Linked DNA regions of Homo sapiens: regions 2, 3 and 4 are each linked to region 1. Evidence: promoter capture Hi-C in 16 types of primary human blood cells and fetal thymus (Javierre and others, 2016). All regions are on one chromosome and are shown on one strand. Each heading gives the region's core, a stretch centred on a gene start or on the middle of the fragment in contact. The rest is flanking DNA. Distances are from core to core; before and after follow the strand shown. Region 1 holds the start of FST (follistatin). Region 2 overlaps ARL15 (ARF like GTPase 15). Region 3 overlaps ARL15 (ARF like GTPase 15). Region 4 overlaps ARL15 (ARF like GTPase 15).

Region 1 (5,295 bases), core at 412-2,911:
GAAAGAGAAAGAAAGAAAAAAAGGAAGAAAGAAAGAGAGAGAGGAAGAAAGAAAAGAAAGAGAGAGAGAGAGAAACAGATCAAGCAAAAGGCACTTCTGAAAAATGAAAGCAAAAAAGCAACCCGGCCCAGCCCGGAGCTACCCCGCGCGGCCTCCAGGCGCAGCCAGCCCGACGGGCCCGTTTTGCAATCCGCCAGACCGGAGCACGCCCGCGGCCACCGCGATCTTTCGAAATCTCCGAGGGCTGCTTTCCTCCGCGCCCACGTCCGGGCACCAGGCAGAGCCTCTCCTCTAAAGGCGGGCAACCCAGCGCAGTGCCATGCAGACGGCGAGGGGCAGTGCCCAGGAGGGCAGTTTACAACATACTTAAAATGTTAACGCTGAAGCAGGGAAAGTAATGCCTTAAGGTGGGGGGAGGGGGGAGTCTTCCTACCATTTCACGGTTATAAGTACCTATCTCATACCTAGCAAGAAATATTTGCAAGTGATTTCTCCCTCTTCCCCCTTTTTAATGTTCGGATTTGGGTCGAGAAGACTTCTCATGAATCACCAATATGACTTTAACAATCATTGGATCGCAAGCTGCTATTATTATTTTAAACATTCTGCCCAAAGACTAATTGAAATAAACAAATCTATTTTTAAAAGGCAAGCTTCAGAAATTTGCTCTTAACCCATTTCAGAATTTAAGTCAGTTATGGGCTGCTCACTGTTTTACAGAAAGCTAAGGGTCAGAAAGAAGAATGAGGCAGAGGGGAAAAAAACTGTAAAGTGCTCAAAGCACTTTGGGGTAATAATTTGGCTTTTTTTTTTTTTTTTTTTTTTTTGCGAGAATGGGGGATGGGGTTGGAAGAAGCATCCACTAGGCAGAAAGCTACTTCCCTTGAAAATCTTCAGCACCCACATTTCCAAGTTTGGGCAAAGTTTCTGAAACCACGTCCCCCAGCCACCAAATAAAATTCAGTATCTCTCCCCCAAACCCCCAGGTTTTCTTTTCTTTCTTTCCTTTTTTTTTTTTAAGTATCCAAAAGATGTGGGAGGGAGAGAGATGAGACTGCAAATGGGTCGACTGAAATCTCCAGGCTACTACTGATACTTGTTCCCTTCTTCAGAGCCAAACAGAGGAGATCACATCTAAAGTTATCATGGCCAGAACTTGGAGCATTTAACCCTAACTACTAAGACCCCAGCTCGCTCCCTTTCCTTTTTCAAGATAACCGAGCTCCAAACTCAGTTCCCAGTCCTAAAGTGTCATTGCCTACAATTTTCCCACTCCTCTCCATCCCGGAGTCCCCAAGTTGGTTCAACATCTTCCGAGAGCAGCGTTGCTCAGAACAGACCAAGTGGAGACCACAGAAAAGTCGACCCCCCTGTCCTCAGCCAAGCCTCCCCAGCGCATCCCCACTCGCTTACCCTGGGCACTGCGGTCCTCCATGAACTGGCAGAGCAGCAGCAGCAGGAGGCAAAGCCCACCCGGCTGGTGCCTCGCGCGGACCATCCTGGGGGCAGGCGCGGGGCGAGGAGCGCAGCGGCGCGGGGAGCCGGCGCGGCGGCGGGTGGCTCGGGCGAGCGGCGCGCGTCGCAGAGGCCAGCGGCGGAGGGCGCAGCGATCCCGGCGCAGCCCCGCGCTCGCCGCCGGCCGCCCGCGCGATTCAATGGACGTCAGAAGCCGGGCGCAGCCGCGCTTTAAATCTAGACGGGGGTCTCCGCGGTTTGCGGTGGGCGGTCTCCCAGTGTGTGGGGCTGTGGGAGGGCGGCCGCGAGCGAGGGTGTGCGCGGCTCCTTGGGGGTGGGGAGCTTTCAAAAGTTCAGTGTGAATCAGGTGACATTTCCCACCTTCTGGAAACCCTTCCCAATTATCTTTCGGAGGTGCCCGAAATCAAAACGGCTGGAAGGGAATCGTCGAGTTCTTATTTGCGTAGGAGCGAGAGGGAGGGGGAAGGCGACCGGGGCGGGGGTTGGGGGCTACGCGTCGGGGGTGGGGAGTGGGGAAGAACACCCACTTCAAGTCCTGCTCGCCGCCGCTCGCCGGCAGCGCCGGCGCGCCCGGGGTGGCGGGTGTGTGTGTGAGTGTGTGTGTGAGTGTGTGTGCGCGCGCGCGCGAGTGTGAGAGGGAGGGCGCGGTGGGGGCGCTGGAGGCGGTGGCGGGGGGAACCCGGGAGTTTGTCTCCGTGCTGCCTCTCCTCCGCTCCAAAGAGACTTTTGCAAACGGCCGAAGAGCCCCGGGCTGCCCAAATATCCCGCCCCGGGTCGGGTCGGAGCGCGCCGGCCTCGCGGCGGTTCCGGGCACCCGCAGCCTGGGCGCGGGACCCGCGAGGTTTTGTGTCTGGGTCTGTGAGTGCCTGACTTTGCAGCCACCCCCAGCCCAGAGGTGTTGCTAGGAACCCCGGCCCCGGCACCTTCCACCCTGGCAGAGCGCTACCGAGACGCGGCCCTTCGTCTGGACTAGTCGGAAGCAAACAAAAATGTTTAACACCTCAGGCCCGGTCTCCCCGCGGCACAGCCTCGCCCTCTCCCTTTCTTTTCTCCCCTTTCACTTCGCGGCGTCTGGAGTCGGAGCCCGGAGCGGGGGCGCCGACGTAGGCGGTCTGGCCCCCCCTTCCTCTCCCGCCTGGAGACTCCCCAGTTTCTGTCCTGTGTGCCTCTGTCTGTCTCTCAGTCTCCTCGGCTCCAATCTCTCTCTCTTTCTGTCTCGTCTTCTCTCTTTTCGCGGAATAAAAAAGATTGCAACATCCATAATGAACTTCTGTAGCCTCAGTTTATTAAGTACAGTGCCTGGCATTCTTCGCTGAAAGTTGGCGGGTCTCTCATTTATAACATTTTTGGCACCGCTGAATGAAACTGAGGAGGCGATATTTCCTTTTATATAAAACGATTACTTCACGGAAAATGCTATATTGTTTATTCCAAAGCTGCCTTTTAAATTTGTTCTTTTCGCATCTGAAGCCCGAAGGACAACAGATAGCGAAGTATGCAGACAAAATTCTTGGACATTCGCAGGTCACTGGGATTTGTTCTACGAATTTCAAATCTGCCCTTCTTCCCCCCCTGCAACTGCCCTCCCCCCGCCAGACCCTCCCCCAGTCCTCCTCTAGCCCTCCCACCCCCCATCTTCCGTCAACCTTCCCCCCTCCACAACTGCAAATAACTCAGTGATAACAGATTTTTTTCCACCAACTGCAGGAGATAGTGCTAATCTTTTAATAAAAGATCCCATTACAATGGGATCTGTCTGGACAGACTATAATAGATCCCGAAATACAGCCGTGCTAATATTAGAAGACAGTTGTTTGGGTGCCTCTCAGACGGGCCCAAGCCCCCCTTTGAAAGTGGGCATGAATCACAAAGCCCCGCGGCCGCCGCACCTGCACCGCGCGCATTCGGTGCAGCAGGCTGGTAAAAGCGGGTGACCTCGCCGCCGCTTTTCGCTTTATAATTACCGTCATGAGGACGGGAGGGGAGGGGCTCGGGCGGCCCGGGGGAGACTGGATTTTGCTCACTTCAGACGGCTGTGGGGGCTCCACATCCTTCTTAATCTTTCCAGAATCATTCTGTCTGTTTCTGTCTCGCTGTCTCTCTCCCCTTCTCCCTTTCCCTCCAGTCCTCCAACTCATTCCCTCTGCTCTCTTTCCCCTACTCCTTCCCCTCTTCTCTCCTTCCCTCCCTCTACCCAGACTCTACCCGTACTCTCCCTCCCTTTTCTCCCTCTCTTTCTTTTCCAGTCTCCTTTTCTCTCTTCCCTCCAACTCATTAATGTAGAGTTGTTTAGTGCCCTCTAATGGCAGACGACATTAACAATTAATAGCAAACTGTCCCCTTTGCAGGAGCCGCCACTCAATGGCAGAGTTCCAAAGCTGAATTTATTTCTTCTTTATTCAGAGAAATGGTATAGTCCTTATACAATGATGTGCTGGAGGGAAAGTTTGTTTTCTCTGCTTAAAGGTTCCCCCACCCCTGCCCAGGGATAAGTTAAAGGAAAGAGAAGCTAACAAGTATTGTTACTTGACTTTTCCCCCTACCCTGTCTTTTAATGGCAGCAAGAGACACAGCTTCTTTTTAAGGTAGAGGTATCAAACCGTATATCCAAGGTTGAAAAATAAACATTCCAAATGCATAAAAGATCTCAGATGGTAAGTAACTGGATCTTACAGCAATGCTATCAATGATCATACATAATTACATGATTTTATATTTGTCTCCAGTTTAAATATATTTATTGGTCCTGAATTGGCCAGTAGCCTCTGGAAACTGGGGTCTTTTTCTTAGACTTTCCACCCTAGGACTATACAAAATATTTAAATTTTACTTATATGCCTAGTTGTATATGAAGTCATCTTGCCTGGAGAAATATAGAATCACGTTTTAATCCATATTTATTTTCTCAATATCTTTGGGAAGATTGTTTTAAAGTTCATAATCTCATCATATTTTATAACCGTATAGCAAGGAGAATAGTGATATAACTTGTATGTTCTTATTAGATTTTAATTTTGTTCATTCCTATATGTACATATAACATGTTGATGTAAAAGGGTCATACAAGTATACACAAAGATTACCTTTTTGGGGGAAGGTCTGTGTAGCTAAATGAAGATTAGAATAGAAGCAATTTGGAGGGGCTAGTCAAAAAATTTTCCATGTTTGAGCAAAACTATTTAGTTTGTCCAGATACTTATTTTAGTTTATGTATATAGAAACAACTGATGTCACAAAAACTTTCTAAATTAATTTAAGTTGTATCCTCACAATTCCAGTATGATTGGGTAAAAGTAAAAATTTCATTTCTATTTCATTTTTTGTCTATGTAATGCCAAATGCTCAGACCAGTCATTTGACTAAATTGACTGCCTTGACTAGTTGTTTTGGCATCATGTAATTGTCTTGGCTAAGCCAAAGCAGACACAGTAGCTCTCATTGTAAAAAATGGCACCACAAATAGGAGTCCCTCAGTACCAGAGGGTGACCCAACACAGGATTACTTCTCGTCCCAGAGAAGGTGACCCTGCAGGTCAGGGTTGAGGTCACTGGCAAACACACTGTGGAAAACATAAGTGCTGTGTTGCTTTTGCCCTTTTGAATAAGCAGCTTGGTGTTTGTTTAGTGATACAAGCTCATCCTGTTTTTCAGCTGCACCTTGGATAGTATTGATCTGTTTGGGAGAATGTCTGCTCCAAATCAGCACAGATCAGTCACCATGACTCTTGCCATCTAGGGTTATTTTCAGATCATAACTGAGGAAATGAGACACAGGTCAATACTGGTTCCTTATAGGCTTTCTGTGGGCATCAGCAAGAG
Region 2 (5,085 bases), core at 690-3,189, 570 kb before region 1:
AGATGGAGGTTGCAGTGAGCCAAGATCACGCCACAGCACTCCAGCCTGGGCGACAGAGCAAGAATCTATCTCAAAAAAAAAAAAAAAAAAAAAAAAAAGGAATGATGATGCAACTAATACATGTTACAACATGGATGAACCTTGGAAACATTATGCTAAGTGAAGAAAGTCATTTACAAAAGGCCACATGTCATACTATGCCGTTTACTGTAGATGAAATGTGCAGAAAAGGAAAATCCATAGACACAAAAAGTAAATTGGTGGTTGCCTAGGGCCAGGGAGAGTGTAGGGATTGGCAAGAAATGGGATTTGACTGCCAATGAGTATGATGTTTCTTTGTAGTGTGATAAAAATATTCTAAAATTGATTACGGTGATGGTCGCAAAACTCTGTATGTACTAAAAGCCACTGAACTGTGTTCTTTAAGTGCATAAATTGTGTGGTATGTGAATTGTATCACAACATGCCTTTTTAAAAAAATAAAAGCTAAGTGGGTGTCCAAGAGTGTGGAATGTTTAGGTCGCATGGAGAAGTTTGGTGTGACTGGAAATAGATTCGGTGAAGTGAGATAGATGAGGTAGGTTGTGGCCATTTGACAAAGGGCCTTCTGCTTCAGATTAACACCTTTACCTTTTCTCATCTAGTATTCTTTTATTTTTTTGAGACGGAGTCTCTCTCTGTAACCCAGGCTGGAGTGCAGTGGCGCGATCTTGGCTCACTGCAAGCTCCGCCTTCTGGGTTCACGCCATCCTCCTGCCTCAGCTTCCCAAGTAGCTGGGACTACAGGCGCACGCTGCCACGCCCGGCTAATTTTTTGTGTTTTTAGTAGAGACGGGGTTTCACCGTGTTAGCCAGGATGGTCTTGATCTCCTGACCTTGTGGTCCGCCCGCCTCGGCCTCCCAAAGTGCTGGGATTACAGGCATGAGCCACAGCGCCCAGCTCTAGTATTGTTTCTCTAAAGCTCATCCACATTGTTGAATGTAGTTTATATTTTTCACTTTTGTGTAATATTTCATTGTGCAAGCTATACCACTGTTTATTTATTTGGGACATTTGCTTTGTTTCCAGATTTTTCTTTCAGAAAGAGTGCCACAATAAATTTTCTTATACATAATCCACTGGTGCAAGTCTCAGAAGATAGTACAGTGCCATTTTTATAAAGCTCAAAAATAAGCAAACTCTTTAAAGGTATATATGCATACATGTGTAATAAGACTGTGCTAAAACGAGGAAAGATATTAAATACAACATTCAGGATAGTGATTTATTTAGGTGGGGGCGAGGTACCGGAAGTAAGGGGAGAGATGGAGCACAGAGGATGGCTGTAGGTTACAGATAATATTCTAGTTTCTGATTGGGTGGTACATTCATAGCTAGTTATTTATTATTAAATAAACTCTATTTTAGAATGACTTTAGATATACAGAATTATTACAAAGATAGTACATAGTGTTTTGTGTATCCCATACCCATTTTCCTCTGTTAAGAGTAGGGGGACATTTATTACAGTTAATGAACCAATACTGATACATTGCTTATAACTAAAGTTGATATGGTATTCAGATTTCCTTAGTTTTTATGTATGCTTTTCTCTGTTCCAGGATCCCATACAGGACACCACATTACACTTAGTTTTCACATCTCCTTAGGCCCCACTTAGCTGTGACAGCTTCTTAGACTTTCCTTGTCTTTGACGACCTTGACAGTTTTGAGGTGTACTGGTCAGGTATTTTATAGAGCGCCTCTCAATAGGAATTTGTCTGATGTTTTTCTCATGATTACACTTAGAAGGAAGATCCCAGAGGTACAGTGCCACATCACATCATATCAAGGGTAAACACTGTCAATGTGACTTATCACTGTTGATATAAACTTTTATCACCTGCTTGAGGTAGTGTTTGTCAGGTTTCTCCACTTTTTCCACTCTAGAGCCACTCTTTTTTATTTTTATTTTTTTTCTTTTTTCATACTCTACTGTTTGGAAACAGGTCATACTTAGAGAGCCATACTTAGAGAGTAGTTATGCTTTACTTTCTTTTGGATAGAATACCTACACAAATTATTTGGAATTATTTGGAATTTTTCTACATAGTAGGTTTATCTCTTCTACCCCATTTATTTGTTGATTTATTCAATTATTTACTTATGTCAGTAGAGACTCATGGATATTTATTTTATACTTTGTTTTTTGTTTGTTTTGTTGTTGTTTGTTGTTGTTGTTGTTTTTGGAGATGCAGTTTTGCCATATTGCTCCTAGTCTCCAGGGATCCTCCCGGGCCCCAGGGATCCTTCTGCCTCAGCCTACCAAGTAGCTAGGATTACAGGTGTGTGCCATCAAGCCTGGTTCATACTTTGGATTATAATTCAATACTCTGTTATTTTGTTGCTTAAATTGTTCCATTTTTGGCATAGGATGTTCTTTTAATTAGCTCCTACGTCCCTTTGACATAGCCTCATCGTTGTGGGGTTTTAGGTGATTTTTTTTCTTTTGGCACTTCCTAACTCTGGCACTGTAAGAGGCTCCACACTCATCTTGGGTATTTCTTGCCGCAGACAGGATCAGCCTTTTGTTGAAGAAGCCCTGGTCATTGGAAAATGGAATCAGAAACCAAGATCTGCGTGCCCTGTGTGCCACTGGGGTATTATTGCTTCTAGACCTCAGCTGATAGAGCGAACTCTGTGTGTGCACGTGTGCATGTGTGTGTGTGTGTGCTGGCCCATGTATATACATATAAAAACATTTTTATATGTAATCCTCTGTATATTAAACTAAATATGAGTTCATACTGAGGTCTTCAGCTCTAATTCATTCCCATAAGGATCATTCTAGCGTTTTTACCCTTGCTTATCTGTAATCTCTCAGTAAAACAGTGAGAAATCTGGCTCACGCTATCCACCATCCATTTACTCAATTGTTTAATTTTAGTATACATATATAATGGTTTCAAAATTAATCCATACCCCTGTGGGAGACAATTCTTACGTACAGTTTCCTTTACCTTTAGTCTTACAGACTTCCCTTTCTTCAAGAGTTACTTAGTTCTGCACTTTATACCCCAATACTTTTCTGGGAAGTTGTTGTATGCAATGTAATATGTTTAGATTATTTATAATATATTTAGATTGCATTTCATGCTAGGCTTCCCCGACTTTCTAGTTAATTTTTTTTAATTTGCATACATTGAGATTTATTCGTTGTGCTATAAAGTTCTTTGGGTTTTGGCAAATACTTAATGTCTTACATCTACTTTTAGAGTACCATACATAATAGTTTCACCTCCATAAAAAAAATCCCCTATGTTTTACATATTTGTCTCTCCCACTCTGAACCCATGGCATCCACAGACCTTGACTGCTATATTTTTGCTTTTTCTAGAATGTCATATAATTGGAATCATACCTTATATAGCTTTTTGAGACTGGCTTCTTTTACTTAGCAATATACATTCAAAATTCATCTTTTTTGTGGTTTGATAGCTCATTCTTTTTATCAATGAATAATATTCCATTGTATAGCTATACTGCAGTTTGTGTAGTCGATTCTTCTATTGGAAGACATCTTGATTGCTTCTAGTTTTTTGTAGCTATACATAAGGTTGCTACAAACATTTGCATATAGGCTTTGTGTGAACGTAAGTTTTAAAATCAATTGAGTAAATACCTAGTAGCGTGATTGTTGGGTCGTATTTGTAAGAAACTGCCAAACTGTCTTCCAATGTGGTTGTACCATTTTCTCACCATCAATGAATGAGAATTCCATTTGCTTTGCACCCAACAGTTGTTGGTGGTACTGTTTTGAATTTTAGCTATTTTAGCAAACGTGTAGTGGTATTCTTTGTCTAAATTTGTAATTCCCTAATGTCAGATGACGTTGAGCATCATTTACTTGCTTACTTGTCTGTTTGGTGACTTGTCATTTATCTTTTGCTCACTTTTAAAAACTAAGATACTTACTATTTATTTTTAGGCTCTGCAATTTATATTTGTTACATGTATTCTTTTGTATGTATCAAATAGTATGTTAAACTATTAAAGCAAAGGAACAGGAAGAAAAAGTTTCAGCTGCATGTTGTAAGTGTGAGGGTCGATTAAGAATTCAGACTTAACTTCAAACTCCAGCCTTGGTACTTATTAGTCTTGCGACTTTGAGAAAGTTATATACTCTTAAGACCTCAGTTTCTTCATACTTAAAATGAGACTAATACCTACCCTATCTGTTTCTTTGTGAGAAAATCATTAAAACAACAGTGTTAGCTAAAGATCAAGCAAGTGCTGGAGACTTGACGCATGTGCCACAAAGGAGATGCTCAATAAATGTTGGCTTCTCATAAGCCCAACGATGGAAAGCTTACTAATCATTAAGCAAATATTTATCAAGTGCCTATTCTGTGCCAGGCACTGAGATACATTCATGGGTCTCTGAGTAGTAGTATTAATATCTTATATCTACCTTTACGGTATCATCAAACTAGTTATATGACTTACAGTTTAAATTACTTTATAGTTTAAAATCACATTTGAGCCAAATTGTGACATTATATTCATAATTTAGAAAGTTAACATAGGGAAAGGATCAGAAGCAGAAGATTAAATTAGTAGGCTCTTCTAAAAATTCAGATGAGACAATAGGATCTAAAAGATAAAATTGGGAATAGAGAGAAGGGAACAGCTGAAGAGATATTTCAGAGGTAGAATTTCATAGACACGAAGATTACTAAGCGATCACGGGTAAGAGAATGGTGTTAAAGATTACTTTTTCTGATCATGAAATTTTAAAATATTGGTTTATAAAGCCTCATATTCACTTAGCATGTACTGATAATCCCCAGTTTTAGACACACGCACATAATATCCCTGGCCACATTTTCTTTTGCAAAATTCTTTAATTCAGAAGTGCTCCTTCCCCAGCAGAAAGCATCTGAAGAGAAAGTCAAACATTCAAGTCAAGTGGGAAACTTTCAAGATTAATTGCCTATACTCACTAGCCACCAAAAATTTTCTGTATTGGTTCTAATAGTTATATTGCAGAACATTTTAAAAGACAGCACAGTATTCTTGCTTGTCTAGTAAAGTAGGAAGGTAAG
Region 3 (5,021 bases), core at 1,876-4,375, 590 kb before region 1:
TATGGCTCAGTGTCTGCGTTCATTTTTCTGGGGGAATGCTTCCATAAATTTCATAGCCACTGCTATAATCTCTCTAGTGATTAATCTCTGAAAAGTTTAATGAACTGTCTAAAGAGGGTGATTTTCTACTTGGGCCTGGTAAGACACTTTTTACGTTGCTTCTCTGGAGCCATGTTTTCCGTGTTATTTTCATGATATTCCTACCACATTCATTTTCTTTCTTTGAGTAGTAGATATCCTTAAATAAACATCACAGTTTGAGAAGATATCATCCTTCATCCTGTTGCATTCCAGCCAAAAGGAGGTCAGAGTTTGAAGAACTTGAGTAAATGAATGACAATATGTTAACAGGCATAAGAAAAATTTAACGGTACTCTTAATTTCTCCCTGTTAAGTCTTCATTTATGATGATGAAGCACAACTAAACATCTTTGGGGTTACTTGAAACATCCTGCGTAGCATAGAAGATGTTCTCATAAGGGAAGCTAATAAGAAGTCACCACTCCTTCAGCAACTGCTAAGAGGAAGAATTTGCTTCAGACAGATTATGTGGCAACTGCAGTGGTCCAGTGGTTGGAGGCCTCTTGATGAGCACAGGAGCCTTTTTAGGAATTAACGCTGATGTCTTCCTCCATGGATGTTTTCTACATAGTTTGGGGGATTAAAAAAAAAAGCACTCCTACATTGGACTCTATTAACACTATGAATTTTATTTTTCATTTAGTTTCATCTTTTAAGTGTTGTAATTATATACCTCCACAATCTATTAGAACGTAGTACCATTGTAACGAGATGTCAGCTAAAAATGTAAGTTTTGGCCTTGAGAAGGTGATTTTTTTACAGGATTCTTACTTGTGATTTAATTCTGCAGTGAAGAATACTTTCTCAAAGAGTTTGTATATGTTCTTTGTCACTATTTCAAATAGTTTATCAGAAAGGATTTAATATTGACGTATATTATGATATGAATCCATAATTTTTCATCAAATTACTGCTATACTATCCTGATTTCTCTTTTTTTTTCTTTTTCTTTTTTTTTTTCTTGAGACGGAGTCTCGCTCTGTCGCCCAGGCTGGAGTGCAGTGGCGCGATCTCAGCTCACTGCAAGCTCCGCCTCCTGGGTTCACGCCATTCTCCTGCCTCAGCCTCCCGAATACCTGGAACTACAGGCGCCTGCCACCATGCACAGCTAATTTTTTTTTTCATGTTTTTAGTAGAGATGGGGTTTCACTGTATTAGCCAGGATGGTCTCGATCTCCTGACCTCGTGATCCACCCGCCTTGGCCTCCCAAAGCGCTGGGATTACAGCCGTGAGCCACCGCGCCTGGCCTATATTATCCTGATTTCTTAGTTTGCTATTGAGTGTCTGCCAAGCATTGTGCTGGGTACTCATTTAATCGTTGTACCAACTCTGTGGTGCGTGTGTATGTATTATTTACACATGCACACACACTTATTCAGATACATAATTTATTATGAATAGATATAAGGTAGTATAATGGGTTAAAAGACAAACTGCAGAGTCAGTGTATAAATCCAGGTCTTTCTAATTCTAGATCTTATCCTCTTACCTAGTCCGTACTCTTCATTTTACCACATTTAATATGGTACTTATTAAGGGTATAACTTAAATACAAGATTAAATTACTACAATTTTAAAACTCCACATGAACTATATGACTGGGTGCAGTGGCCCACACCTGTAATCCCAGCACTTTGGGAAGCCAAGGTGGGCAGATTACCTGAGGCCAGGAGTTCGAGACCAGCCTGGCCAACATGCCAAAACCCCATCTCTACTAAAAATACAAAAATTAGCCAGGTGTGGTGGTGCACACCTGTGGTCCCAGCTACTCAGAAGGCTGAGGCATGAGAATCACTTGAACCCAGGAGGCGGAGGAGGTGGAGGTTGCAGTGAGCCAAGATCGTGGCACTGACTCCAGCCTGGGGAACAAAGTGAGACCTTATCTCAAAAAAAAAAAGGAATATATATTATTAACCCAAAGACTGTTTTGTTCTAGCTTCTGTTTTTGCTTTTCGCCTTTGGCTGCCTTGTGAATAAAATCTTAAATGACCGTGATAGAAAAATTATGTAAAGTAGTATTCACTAAAACTTTACTTCTGTAATTCAATATGAAGAAGCTTCACGTCTACCTGGGGAAAGTATATCAGTTTTCTCAAGCCTACCTTGTTTGTCTAGTGACAATAACAGATTCCTAGGGTTGGAAGAACCCCCTATATTTATTGTCCTGAACTTGGCAAAGATCATGAACATTCATTTAACCATCTAAATTATAAATTATCTTATAATAGCTTCTTTGGGCCAGGAGACTTTAACTTATTTAAAGTAATACAGTATAATGATAGGCCAGGACTTTTTTTTTTTTTTTTTTTCCTGTATTCTGTACTAAGAATCATTCTGTCAGATCTGCTTTGGGTTTTTCTGTGAGTGTTTCTCTTAATTTATATTTCTAGAGTTTTTGTGTCTTGTGGGGATATAAAATTCCTCAGGAGTGTAAGGAGTAAAAGACTAAAGAACATTAATAGTGTGTGAAGATTGCTACCACTGAGACCTGGGGAAGTGAAATATGGGCAAATGGACTCATTTAATTTAAAATTCTTTTTACTCTTTTACCTTCTTATATGTGTCTTTTATTTGAGCATTTTTAATGTGATATAACTTAAAAATTAAGCTTCAGAGTCAAATAGAAAATATCAAAATTAAGAAGGAAATAGATGTATTTTTCACTCTGCCTCTAATACTATTAAAGTAAAATCTCTCTGACTTGAATAATAGAAACTGACAGTTCTGAAAACATGTGCCTTTTCTTAATAACACAGGCAATTGTCTTTTATTTATTTCATCAGGGAAAGACACTTAAGCTCACATAGATTTCAATAGCTTTATGCATCAAACTTTACAAAAGCAGAAAAGCAGATAAAAATTAAAAGTTAAATATCTTTTCCTCTTAGGATCTTATCTTCTTTATTCTTCTTCCTTCTTCTCAGTTGTTTATTAGCTTACTCTTGGATTTACAACATTTTATTGACAATCTGTGGTTTGTGGACTTTATTAGTCCCAGTCTGTCACTTTAAGAAGGAGAAAAGGAACAGAAATGATTATAGCCACTATTTTTGGATGTATTGTAGGTTTTAGGCATTTAGTTCTCACAGCCACACTGTGAAGTAGGTGCTTCATAATCATCCTCCTTCTTTAGATGAGGCTCAGTTTGTAAGCAGTGGACCTGGTGTTTGAATACCAATCTGTATGATTTAGAGACACAGGATTTCCCACCACCCACACCATTTGAACATGTTATAATCCAGATCTGGTATATAGTAAAGATGCTAGTCAACAGTAAAATTACCAAATGGGTGAGCTAGAAGAAAGACTGACACAGAGTGAATATTCAGCTATCACTCTGTAAATAAAATAGTTCCACTCTGGTTTTTCTCTGCTGCCAGCACAAATGAGACTGGAAGGCAACACCTGGAATGACGGGACCCCACCCAGTCTCCATGACATATCTTGGCATTCCCACTGAAGCTGTTAAGAAGCTTGGAATGCTAGAAAAACTAGGAAGCAGCATAATAGTCAAGAGGAGTTTTGTGCTTACAGGTACTGCTACATTCCCACCTGGCTGCTGCCCATACATCCCATTGTAAAGTTTCTTGTTACTGCTAGTTTGAGAGCCACCTTCGTGTCTCTTGGCTTTTCTTTTAATCAAGGGGACTAGAAGTAGGAAAACATTTCTTTGGGGCTTAAATGATGTCAGTAATTGGCAATGGAAAAAAGGAAACTTAATCTGAGCTGATCACAGAGACACTGGTCTTTTCCTTTTATAAGGAGACACCACTAGACTATTTCCATTTGCTTTCCCCAGAGTGTTATATTGTTTACTACTCCATGTAAGCCAGCCATATCTTTAAATGAAAGCATTTTCTAACCAACTTCTGAAGTGAAATGGTAACAATCTCACTTGAAACCTATATGTCAGTACATCCCACAACACATGAGTTTGTTTCAGACTTTGAGTCCTCTTATATATGTGGTGAGAAGTTCAAAATTACCCCTTATTTATACAGCCTTTGGCAGTTTGGGCAATGTGTTTTGTCACCTGTTTGCTGTCTTACGAAGAGCTGGAAAGTTTATGAAGAAATAGAAAATATGACTTTGAGCCCTTGACATTTTAAAATAAATGTACATATTGTTAGTGACAGATTGCTAAACTTGGCTTTAGACACTTAGCTATGTTTCTTGCCAAAAGTAATCCAGATGTGCATAATTTATCCGACTGCCATATGTGCACTGACATGTCGTTCTATAATCAACTGTTCAGTATGGTTACAGTTATATGTTCTTTTTTATCAACAATCTTTTGAAATATCACTGACTTGATAACTTATTTTAAGTTTTAACAACTTCTCAAAAAGTAATGCATAACCAATTTGGCTTTAAACCTGAGTGACCAGACATGTTGAGTGTCTAGAAAAGACATTGACAATCCACATTCCCTGAGGGCCATATGTATTTCAAGGGGGAAAATCTAGGATACCATCTTCAGCGTGATTCTATTTTGATGAGTGTCTTAGGGGTATAGAATAGAAGGTGTACCCAATTAAATTTTGTTGAAACAAAAACAAAGTAAAGTCTCTAACCAAGTAATTTGTTTTGGAAAGGGAGTGGGAAAAGGAAATTTTGATACATATGAAATAAATATGTGGAAAGAGGATATTTCATTTTTTCCCTAATGCAGTATCTTCTGTGTTGTGTGCAGGCAATGCTTGTGACATTCACATGGGGTATGGCACTGTGCTGATTCCCAAGCTTTATCTTTTTGTTTAAGAAAGGCATTTTTTTCCCTAGAGAATTTGAGAGAATGTATGTATGATAGGAAATATTGCTTGTCTATTACCATTTCTTAAATTGATACTTAAATATCTCGGAGACATTTAGACCACATGATGATAGCATTTGTACCAGCGCTGAGAGATAGTTACCTTGAAACTATGTCCTTGTTTTT
Region 4 (5,324 bases), core at 1,737-4,236, 520 kb before region 1:
TAGCTTTTCTTTTTTGCTAATTTTTTCTAAGGAAGACCCTCATGGACTCAATATAGATATGAGTGAAACTGCTGTCTCAAAAGCCTTTTATTAACTAGCTGCTAAATTTTATGACATTTTTTCTGTCTACTATACCCCACCCTTCTCTGCTTCCTTTTTTTCCCTTATTTTTTTCCTTATTTTTATTTTTATTTTATTTTATTTTTGAGACAGAGTTTCACTTTTATTGCCCAGGCTGGAGTGCAATGGCGTGATCTTGGCTCACTGCAACCTCCACCTCCCGGTTCAGGAGATTCTCCTGCCTCAGCCTCCTGAGTAGCTGAGATTACAGGCATGTGCCACCACGCCCATGTAGAGATGGGGTTTTCTCCATGTTGGTCGGGCTGGTCTCGAACTCCCAACTTCAGGTGATCCGCCCACCTTGGCCTCCCAAAGTGCTGGGATTACAGGTGTGAGCCACCGCACCCAGCCTTTATGTATTTATTTATTTATTTTTATTTTTATTTTTTTGAAATGAAGTTTCACTCTTGTTGCACAAGTTGGAGTGCAGTGGCACGATCTTGGCTCACTGCACCCTCCACCTCCCGGGTTCAAGTGATTCTCCGTGCCTCAGCCTCCCAAGTGGCTGGGATTACAGGCCCGCACCACCATACCTGGCTAATTTTTTGTATTTTTAGCAGGAACGGGATTTCACCATGTTGGCCAGGCTGGTCTTGAACTGCCGACCTCAGGTGATCCACCTGCCTCGGCCTCCCAAAGTGCTGGGATTACAGGCATGAGCCACCACGCCCGGCCTTCCACTTATTTTTGAACATTTCTTTTTGTTTGAAGTTCCCTTCTTCCTGAGCTTATTTTAGCATTGCACATGCCTACTTGTTTTCCTACATTTCCTTTCACTGTCTTCTTCACTCAGTTTTCTTTTCCTCTCTATTCCTTGAGTATAGACACTTACCGAATGTTGGTCCTACAGCCTTCTCTTTATTCTCTGTTCTTTCTACCTAGGAGATTTCTTCCACTTCCTGGCCCCACTCTTGACAGCATCTCAGTGTTGATGTCTCTGTCTTCTGACTCCAGATCCAAATGTTACTCTGAGTGTGCTTAATGTGAATGCACCAATGCCCCATTAGCCCCCACATCCCTTCAGCATCGTCATGTTAAATAAATTCCTTATTCCAGTGGGAGTTTACTTATTCTGTCTCCTCCCACTCATGTCTGCTATTTGGGACATCCCTCTTTTGGTTGGTGTTGCCCTGGTTCTCATTGGCACCAAACCCAATTCCCATGTCTGTCTCTCCTTTTTAGACCATAAGCAGGGACCAGGCCTTTTCATTTTGTAACTGCTGCATGTAGTACAGTGCCTGGAACACAGCTCAGTAAGTAACAAGCTGATTGATTCACTGAATTAATATTGAACGGCTTCTCTCCCACCTCCCAGTTAGTTCTCAAAGACTTTTCATGCCCTCATCTCTTATGTAAATATTCCACTTTTATTCTTTTGCATCTCTAACCTTCCCTTTATGTTTCTGCCAGAGTTGTCCTCCTTACAGAAGTCCCTTTCTGTGCAGGGCTGTGCCTTATTCATCTTTATATAACCCAAGTGCTGAACCGCAGTGCCTTGTATACAGTAGCCACTTAAAGGTATGCTAAATTTGAGCGGAGCTAAGAAGGAAGGAAAGAGATGTGAGGGGTGACACATTGAAAGGAGGATTAGAAAGATAAAAGGGGAGAAACTAAAGGGCTGAGGCCAGCCAGTCTGTCTGTAAACATTCCATTAGTCCTGGTGTTAGATTGGATAAAAGCTTTTTTTTTTTTTTTTTTCCTGATGTCCCTGGACACTTCTCCTTTGGAAAAGAACGATACATTATTCAAGAGATGGGAAAAGCGAGAGAAATAGGGCTCAGTCCCCCTCACAAAAATCTGGTTCATAGAACCCAGAATTTTGGAGCTAGAAAATGCCTGAGTAGAGCCCAGCTCTCATTCTGCAGGCAAGGAAACTGAGGCATGAGGAGGTTAAGTGGCTTAGCAGCTAGCTAATGGGAAAATCAGCAGTCAAACATGAGTCTCTTTCTTCCTCTCCCAGCACATCCATCAGTAAATCACATTTTCTCTTTTCTTGGTGGTGCAGGCCAGTGTTTAAGGTGAGGGATTATGATTACTAAGAGACTAGGCATTTTAAAGACCCTTTGCTAATCACAAATTTTTGCAAAGTTTACATCAGGCTCTTTTTAAAGGACTCAGCATGGTGGGAAATAGATTAGTGGTTTTACATTTCTTTTTTTTAAGTGGAGATTTCCAAAGCGTCCCTCTTTTTATTTTCTTTTTAAAATAAAATTGTACTTAGCATAATTAGAGAAACAGATTAAAGTGGAATTGTTCTGGCTAAATTGGAGGTGAGGACCATAAATTCTGCTTGCTGCCCCCTTCCCCATTCACCTCCTTCATCCTGCTCCTGGATGCCCACTGAAGAATCTGAAAAGTTTCTTAGAGAACACTTTTTATCCAGTTAATCAAATGACCTCCAAGGTCCCTTTCATTCTCTCATGCTATGGTGCTGAGATGATGTAGTCTGTTGCCATTTGGATCATTATTGAAAATTATCAGGTGATGAGGATTTAGGGAGAGTGAAACAAGAAGTGGTGTGGGAAGGCCTGCTATTCATCAGGAAATAAAAGGTACCCTTAATTTGGTTTTTAAGAAATAGTCAGGAAAAGAGATTGATAGGGCAGCAGAGAGACTGTCTACTGCTTGGAGATTTTGAATGCTGTGGCTAGAGTGATAAACAAAGACAACTCTTAGCAGTGGGCACATATCAAGAAATGAAGAACGACGAGCCCAGAGTTGAGGAGCTCAGATTAGGGAACTCTTCTGAGCTCAGGACATAAAGAAGAAGACAGATTATTTGGAGAAAAAAGTTTGAAAGGTTTTTGTGAACTGGATTTATAATGTAAAGGACAGAACTTTGTTGAGTTGTTTTCCAAGGTTCAGCAAACGAATTGCATTTCAGCATAAATTTGTCAAATGGTAGATGAGAAATGTATTCTTCACCCTATTGAGGTAGTAATGTTGGAAAGAGATCTTGCTGTACGATACAGGAGAAGGAAGGTTTATTAAACTGCACAGAATGTCTGCAAGTCATCCCACATCTCTGAACTCTTTCTTCCCATCTGTAAAAATAGGAAGATTATAATTTTAGATATGTTGAGCCTGTGTCCATCCCAGTGCTCCTGCTCCCTTCTGCCTTCAGGCGTAAGGTACAGGTGTAAGGTGTTAGCCTACCATTATTCTCTTTTTATCTAGGGTCTCTTTGGATCAGTAGTCTCTAACTAGAGACAATACCATTCCTACCTAGGGGACTTTCACCTAACCAGCCTCAGAAACCTATTTTTAGGTAGCAAAAGAAAAACATTTGTCATATAGACCTAGATGTTAGCTGCTTGTCACAAGCTGAAGGGGTGTTCTCTTTTTTTTTTTTTTTTTTTTTTTATGAGACAGTCTCACTCTGTCACCCAGGCTGGAGTGCAGTGGTGCGATCTCAGCGCACTGCAACCTCCGCCTCCCGGGTTCAAGCAATTCTCGTGCTTCAGCCTCCCAAGTAGCTGGGATTACAGATGTGCACCACCGTGCCCAGCTAATTTTTGTATTTTTAGTGGAGACGGAGTTTTGCCATGCTGGCAAAGCTGGTCTTGAACTCCAGACCTCAGATGATCTACCCGCCTCAGTCTCCCAAAGTGTTGGGATTACAGGTGTGAGCCACTGCACCCAGCCTGAAGGGGTGTTCTAATGTTGAGTATGATCACACATGCATCAGCTCTGTTCTGGTACTCGCATTTCGTCAACCAGAGGCTCCCCTCATAAATGTCAGATTAGTCCCAGGAGACACTAGTCTGCAATCTGATTTCCCTTGCCATTGTCCCCAGCTAGGCGGCAGAGCTGAGTTTAACTAAAAGTTTAAGAAAACTGGGTTTTTTGCTCACCCATCTAGCTGAACATTCTCCTGAACATCTGCCTGAACATCCTCCTCTGAAGAAGCCAATGAGAATTATTGATAATGTATGAACCCCCAGGAGACAAACCTTTTACAAATAAACTGAAAGACAAGGAAGTAAAGTTATATACAGTTATTAAGGAACACTCAACCACCCCTGCTTTTTAAAACCACATAATGAAGCTTTAGCACATTTCACCCTTATTCTGTTTTTGTTTCTGTTTTAAGCTAGAGACTCTTTGGGTCAGTGGTTTCCAACTGGAGAAAGTACTTTTTTGCCTAGGGGACTTTGGGGAACGTATGGGAATATTCTGATTATCACTATAACTGGGGTCACTGCTAGCATTTTGTGGGCAGGGGCCAGGAATGCCAGGACAAGGCCAACCCCCGAAAAGGGAGAATTATCATATCTTAAATGCCAGGAGCATCCTCATTGAAACACTGAGCATTTTAATGAAAATGTACTCTTCCTTTGCCAAATTTTCTTACTGATAAACTATGATAAACTACTCTTGAAGATGAGTAATCTATAGCTATTTTGCTTATTTGGACCTTAGTAGTGTAACTGTTTTCTGACATTGGACACTCAATAAGTGTCTGCCAAAATACTGAGAATTATGAGTAGTGAGGCATCAAATATTTAAAACATATTTCTGTTTTATACATAAGCAGTATAGTCATTTTTAAAATCATTTATTGCACACCCCTAATGTAGACAAATGTTTATAAAATATTATTTGAATTAAATGCAACTGCACACTCACATCATTTAAAAAAATCCCCAATTGCTTTTTTTTTTTTTTTTTTTTTTTTGTGACGGAGTCTCGCTCTGTCTCCCAGGTGTGCAGTGGCACAATCTCGGCTCGGAGCAACCTCCACTTCCCGGGTTCAAGCAATTCTCTGCCTCAGCCTCCTGAGTAGCTGGGATTACAGTCACCCACCACCATGCCCAGCTAATTTTTGTATTTTTAGTAGAGATGGGGTTTCACCATCTTGGCCAGGCTGGTCTTGAATTCCTGACCTCGTGATCTGCCTGCCTCGGCCTCCCAAAGTGCTGGGATTACAGGCATGAGCCACCGCGCCCAGCCTCCCAGTTACTTTTAAAGAATGTCTTGGCACCCATTAAGAAAAGTAGATGTTTAGACCAGGTACGGTGGCTTATGCCTGTAATTCCAGTACTTTGGGAGACTGAGGTGGGAGGATTGCTTGAAGACAGGAGTTTGAGACCAGCCTCAGCAACATAGTGAGACCCCTGTCCATATAAAAAGAAAGAAAAATAAGTGTTGATTTGAGGTTTGTGTGTTTTCATTTAAATGGCTCTAATATTAATATTAATGGC

The links. Contacts are between HindIII fragments. The CHiCAGO score rates a contact against its expected background, and 5 or more counts as called.
Region 2: a contact is called between a fragment that was not itself captured here and the fragment with the promoter of FST in region 1, in 1 of 17 cell types (M2 macrophages). The highest score is 5.9, in M2 macrophages.
Region 3: a fragment that was not itself captured here is called in contact with the fragment with the promoter of FST in region 1 in 2 of 17 cell types (megakaryocytes and M2 macrophages); the score reaches 6.1 in megakaryocytes.
Region 4: a contact is called between a fragment that was not itself captured here and the fragment with the promoter of FST in region 1, in 6 of 17 cell types (megakaryocytes, M1 macrophages, M2 macrophages and 3 more). The highest score is 16.0, in megakaryocytes.

Annotation. Positions count from the first base shown.
Region 1 is chr5:53,476,995-53,482,289 of GRCh38, reverse strand. It overlaps FST (follistatin), which reads right to left and starts at 1,661. Exons shown (of 6, transcript NM_013409.3): 1 at 1,414-1,661. The coding sequence starts at 1,498. RefSeq lists an enhancer at 359-428. The HindIII fragment of the contact is 5,217 bases long and covers 656-5,295 here.
Region 2 is chr5:54,050,366-54,055,450 of GRCh38, reverse strand. The region is part of intron 4 of ARL15 (ARF like GTPase 15); the gene reads left to right. Among named protein-coding and RNA genes, the nearest start is that of MIR581, 100 kb to the right of the region's middle. The HindIII fragment of the contact is 4,822 bases long and covers 1-4,350 here.
Region 3 is chr5:54,072,444-54,077,464 of GRCh38, reverse strand. The region is part of intron 4 of ARL15 (ARF like GTPase 15); the gene reads left to right. Among named protein-coding and RNA genes, the nearest start is that of MIR581, 120 kb to the right of the region's middle. The HindIII fragment of the contact is 865 bases long and covers 2,693-3,557 here.
Region 4 is chr5:53,994,778-54,000,101 of GRCh38, reverse strand. All of the region lies in intron 4 of ARL15 (ARF like GTPase 15), which reads left to right. Among named protein-coding and RNA genes, the nearest start is that of MIR581, 46 kb to the right of the region's middle. The HindIII fragment of the contact is 2,369 bases long and covers 1,802-4,170 here.